Linked DNA regions of Homo sapiens: region 1 is linked to region 2. The links are contacts of gene promoters, found by promoter capture Hi-C in human tissues and cell types (Jung and others, 2019). All regions are on one chromosome and are shown on one strand. Each heading gives the region's core, a stretch centred on a gene start or on the middle of the fragment in contact. The rest is flanking DNA. Distances are from core to core; before and after follow the strand shown.

Evidence for each region. Contacts are between HindIII fragments. The study calls those that stand out against the background at their distance.
Region 1: a contact is called between a fragment that was not itself captured here and the fragment with the promoter of IGLON5 in region 2, in 2 of the 25 tissues and cell types used here (adrenal gland and dorsolateral prefrontal cortex).

Annotation. Positions count from the first base shown.
Region 1 is chr19:51,582,317-51,585,016 of GRCh38, forward strand. The region is part of intron 4 of ZNF175 (zinc finger protein 175); the gene reads left to right. Among named protein-coding and RNA genes, the nearest start is that of LINC01530, 11 kb to the right of the region's middle. The HindIII fragment of the contact is 5,405 bases long and covers 1-2,700 here.
Region 2 is chr19:51,310,259-51,312,958 of GRCh38, forward strand. IGLON5 (IgLON family member 5) reads left to right here and starts at 1,386. Exons shown (of 8, transcript NM_001101372.3): 1 at 1,386-1,668. The coding sequence starts at 1,590. The HindIII fragment of the contact is 18,731 bases long and covers 1-2,700 here.

The DNA of each region.
Region 1 (2,700 bases), core at 84-2,583, 270 kb after region 2:
AGACAGAGTCTCACTCTGTCACCTAGGCTAGGGTGCAGTGGCACGATCTTGGCTTACTGCAACCTCTGCCTCCTGGGTTCAAGTGATTCTCCTGCCTCAGCCTCCCGAGTAGCTGGGACTACAGGCACCCGCCACCACACTCGGCTAATTTTTTGTATTTTTAGTAGAGACAGGGTTTCACCCTGTTAGCCAGGATGGTCTCGATCTCCTGACCTTGTGATCTGCCCACCTCGGCCTCCCAAAGTGCTGGAATTATAGGCGTGAGCCACCGCACCCAGCCTGTTTCATTGCTTAAGTGTTATTTTTCTAATAACTGAATGGTGAGAGCCTCTCATCTTATCTGTTATCTGATTGGCTTTTTCATTTGTTTGTTGCATTTTCTTACCGCTTATCTCTTTACGTCCATGGAGTTTTCTGCCTTTTTTTTCCAGTTTTTTTGCCCCTAATTTTATTTATTTTCTTTTCTTTGCTGGATCTGCTGTCTTCTTTTCCTCCCAGTTGTGGCACCTCTAGCTTGGGGCCCTGTTCTTCCATATGGGCATCTTTTCTTTTTTTTGAGGCAGAGTTTCACTCTTGTTGCCCAGGCTGGAGTGCAATGGCACGATCTTGGCTCACCGCAACCTCCGCCTCCCAGGTTTGAGTGATTCTCCTGCCTCAGCCTCCCAAGTAGCTGTGATTACAGGCATGCACCACCATGCCCGGCTAATTTTGTATTTCTAGTAGAGACGGGGTTTCTCCTTGTTGGTCAGGCTGGTCTCGAACTCCCGACCTCAGGTGTTCCGCCTGGCTTGGCCTCCCAAAGTGCTGAGATTACAGGCGTGAGCCACCGTGCCCGGCTATGGGCATCTTTTCCCACAGGAATTGACTTAAAGGACCCATCCATTCTGAACTCTTAGTCCTCATATTTTTATTCTAATGATTTATATATCAGTACCTCTAGTCCCTGTGCTTAAACTGTGTTCTGCTACCTTACTTAGCTCCACGGAGGACAGTTCCCATGAGATGACTCACTTCCTTAATTTTGGGAGATCAGAAATTGGAATCATCATCATCCAAATAAGGAATTCTCACCTGATAAATTTTGTGAGATTTTTCTGTTTCTGGGCTCAGAAACACAGTCCTCTAATTTAATTTATTACTTTGGAATTCTTACCAGTTTTTCTTGTTTTAATTAAGAAAAAAGTGACCCTTTTTCTTAATCCCAGTGGTATTACAACAAACTAGATCCCCATTTTCTCATATTTAGACAATTTTGTTCCCAGTGAGATATGTTGATTTCAGGTTTTTGAGTTTAGTCAAGATACTGACAGATTTTATGACCCCAAACATGGCTATTTTGTTTCTTTTTTCCTCAGTAGATATGATAAAAACAGGCAGTTCTATTTCCTACTGTGTAGGATTAACAAATTCTTTTCAGTGATATTGTCCTCATGGCCACATATTTCCAATTTAAAAATATACCTGAATAGTTTTCATCACTCATGCTCTGCTCCATTGTTTTTGTATGTTGTTTAATGTCTACTCCATAGAATGATTCACTTTGCATACACTCTGCTGATTACTTTGTACTTTCTTAATCTTCATTATATCAATGTTTAGCATGAGGAAACCATTGTATTTAAGATATAGGATTAGGATTTTTGTATTTAGGATACAGAAATTACTGATTTTCTGAAAATGGGCAGAAAAGAATATTTCACAGTATTTTAAAAGGATGCTTTAAATATTTGCTGAGATAAATTCAAAAGAACGGAGATTGTATTTGGATGGAGAGGACAATGGCATTAAATGTTAAAAGTATTAGCCTTTGTGCATCAATCATGTCTATTTCATGGAAGGCTACTCAAAAAGTAAGTGTATCAACATGGGAAGCATGGATAGCAAATGCTGGTGAAGTTCAGAAAAATGATGTCAGCCTAGAGGTGGAGTGACATTGGGAATTAATTTTAAGGGCATAGTACCTATAACTGGTTCAAGAAGCCATTTTGAATTGAAACAAAGAAGCAGATGAAGCAAGCTTAATGGGAATAGAGGACATGAGAGTGTGCTTGGATTTGAGAATAAATTGGACTTCTTTTTTGCAATCGACATTGTTAGGCTGTGTTGGAGAGTTGTGGAAAAGCTTTTCAGTACAGTTCTGATAGTTTACATTGAACATTTTGGGCAGTAATTTAAGTGTTACCAGGTTCAGCAAGATTTTTATGACCTGAATAAAGTGAGAAGTTAAAAATGTTTCAGATCGCTGCCTGGGGACACAGTGGAAGATTGCCAGAATAAATGACCACCTGTATATGGGTAAAATTGCTATTTAAGAGTGAAAAATGAAATAGAAAACAACCTATTTTAATAAGTGGGAAAAGGATGTGAATAGACATGTCTTCAAAGATGATATACAAGTGGCCAATAATAGGAAAAAATGCTCAACTTCACTAATTATGTGGGAAATGCAAATCAAAACCACTGGGTGATATCCCTTTACATCCATTAGAATGGCTACAATTAAAAAAACAGAATAACAAGTGTTGGCAAGGATATAGAGAAACTGGAATCCTTGTGTATTACTAGTGGGAATGTAAAATGGTGTAGTCCTATGGAAAACAGGATGATGATTTCTCAAAAATTAAACATAAAATTACCATATGATCCAGCAACTCCACTTCTGGGTAGATACCCACAAGAATTGAAAGCAAGGACCCAAAC
Region 2 (2,700 bases), core at 136-2,635:
CCCAATCCCTTCCCATTGCCTTATTATACTGGGGATGAGGGTTGGGGTGGAGGAAAAAAGCAAATTTCACTCCAAAAGTCAGTGTTTTCGTTATCCATGAAAATAGATGGAAAAGCTGAACTGTGGCCCACAGGAAGAGGGGCCTGGGGGCCTGGCCTCCTGGGTCTGAGGGAGGAGGGGGCTGGGGGCCTGGACTCCTGGGTCTGAGGGAGGAGGGGCTGGGGGCCTGGACTCCTGGGTCTGAGGGAGGAGGGGCTGGGGGCCTGGACTCCAGGGTCTGAGGGAGGAGGGGCTGGGGGCCTGGACTCCAGGGTCTGAGGGAGGAGGGACTGGGGACCTGGACTCCTGGGTCTGAGGGAGGAGGGGCTGGGGGCCTGGACTCCTAGGTCTGAGGGAGGAGGAACTGGGGACCTGGACTCCTGGGCCTGAGGGAGGAGGGGCTGGGGACCTGGACTCCTGGCTCTGAGGGAGGAGGGGCTGGGGGCCTGGACTCCAGGGTCTGAGGGAGGAGGAGCTGGGGGCCTGGACTCCTGGGTCTGAGGGAGGAGGGGCTGGGGGCCTGGACTCCTGGGTCTGAGGGACGAGGGGCTGGGGGCCTGGGCTCCAGGGTCTGAGGGAGGAGGGGCTGGGGGCCTGGACTCCTGGGTCTGAGGGAGGAGGGGCTGGGGGCCTGGACTCCTGGGTCTGAGGGAGGAGGGGCTGGGGGCCTGGGCTCCAGGGTCTGAGGGAGGAGGGGCTGGGGGCCTGGACTCCTGGGTCTGAGGGAGGAGGGGCTGGGGGCCTGGACTCCTGGGTCTGAGGGAGGAGGGGCTGGGGGCCTGGGCTCCAGGGTCTGAGGGAGGAGGGGCTGGGGGCCTGGACTCCTGGGTCTGAGGGAGGAGGGGCTGGGGGCCTGGGCTCCAGGGTCTGAGAGAGGAGGGGCTGGGCCTGGACTCCTGGGTCTGAGGGAGGAGGGGCTGGGGGCCTGGACTCCTGGGCTGAGGGAGGAGGGGCTGGGGGCCTGGACTCCTGGGTCTGAGGGAGGAGGGGCTGGGGGCCTGGACTCCTGGGTCTGAGGGAGGAGGGGCTGGGGGCCTGGACTCCAGGGTCTGAGGGAGGAGGGGCTGGGGACCTGGGCTCCTGGGTCTGAGAGAGGAGGGACTGGGGCTAGTCTCCTAGGTCCATGGGAGGATGAGATTGGGACTTGAAGGAGGAGGGAGCTGGGTTTTAGGAAGTATCCCAGACTCCGTGTTCTGCGGATGTGGTGGAAAGACGTGGGGACGCCTGGGGCGGGAGGGGTAGGGGCCGGGCCGCAGTAACAAAGGCCTCTCCCTCCAACAAGCAACCCCCCCTTGACCCCGCCTCCCCGGCCCCCCACCTCTCCTGATTGGCCGGTCTCCCTGCCCGTCAGCGCCGCCCCCCTCCCCGGGTCTGCAGCAGCTCCAGCCGCCTCGTCGCGCCCCCCCAGCCCCCTCCCCCCGCCCCCGCCGCCCCCCGGGCCGGTGCAGCGCAGGCGGGGTCCCCCTCCCCCTCCCCCCTCTCCCCCCAGGCCTCGCGCGCCCCGGACCGGCCCCCCCTTTCCCCTCCCCCTCCGCGCCGCCTCTGCCGCGATGCCCCCCCCTGCGCCCGGGGCCCGGCTCCGGCTTCTCGCCGCCGCCGCCCTGGCCGGCTTGGCCGTCATCAGCCGAGGTACCGCAGCGCCGGGGGCGGGGGGCTCGGCCGGGACGCCAGGGTCTTGGGTGGGTAATCGGGGGATCAGGGGTGGGGGTCGAGGGCTGCATCCCTGGGCCGGCGCGGGGAGGCCCCGGGACGCCGGGGTCTGGGCCCGGGGGTGGGGTCTGCATTCCCTGGCTGGGCAGGGGGACCTCGGACGTGGGGGTCCGCGCCCCGGGGCAGGGGTCGGCGTCCTCGGGCCGGAGCCGGGTCTAGGGGCGGAGGTCTGCTTCCCCGAGCAGGCAAGAGGGTCGCAGACACCTAGCCCTGCCTGGGGGCAGGAGTCTGCGGCTCCTGTTGAGGAGGGGGCAGACACTGGACTCGGGGTCCCCGGGTCGGATCTCCGAACTGAGTTGGGGTGGGGGGCAGGGGATAATGCCCTGTTAGGGGTCTTCATCTGTACGTGGAGAGGGTCCCTGAAGAGGTCCTTGCCGGGGGCTGGGGTAGTCATCTCGGGACAGAGGTCAGGGGATGGATGCCTTCCCAGGGTCAGTAAGAGGAGGGGACAAGGGTGTCCACAGACCTAGTCCCAGGGTCAGGAAAAGAGGGGAAGGGTCTGAAATCCCCCAGCAGGGTCATCTAGGTTGAGAGAAAGTGTTGGTACTTGGGGAGGTTGCAGTTATGTGGGGGAGAAGGGAGCTGGAGATACAGGAAGTTGGGGTGCTGGGCTGGGGTCTTGGATTCCCAAGCTCTGATTGAATGTCTAGGTTCGTGGGGCTGGACAGTGGAAGAGCGATGGGCATGGGAGGATGAAGGAAAGACGGAAGGGAAGGGTTAAAGCAGGTTGAAGGGTTAACCCCGGCCCGGCCCGGCCCTCCCAGTTGGGGAGAGGGCCAGGGGCAGGTTTCTGCACTGAGGTTAGATAGCTGGACCTTGAGTCTCCCCAGTAGGGCCTGGCAGGCAGGGGGTGGTCAAGGAGATTCCTAGATTTCCCCCTAAGAAAAGGGAGGAGAGTGCAAGGAGGCAGGAGGCTGGAGGGTGGGCGCTCAGGAGGGCAGGGAGCTGGGT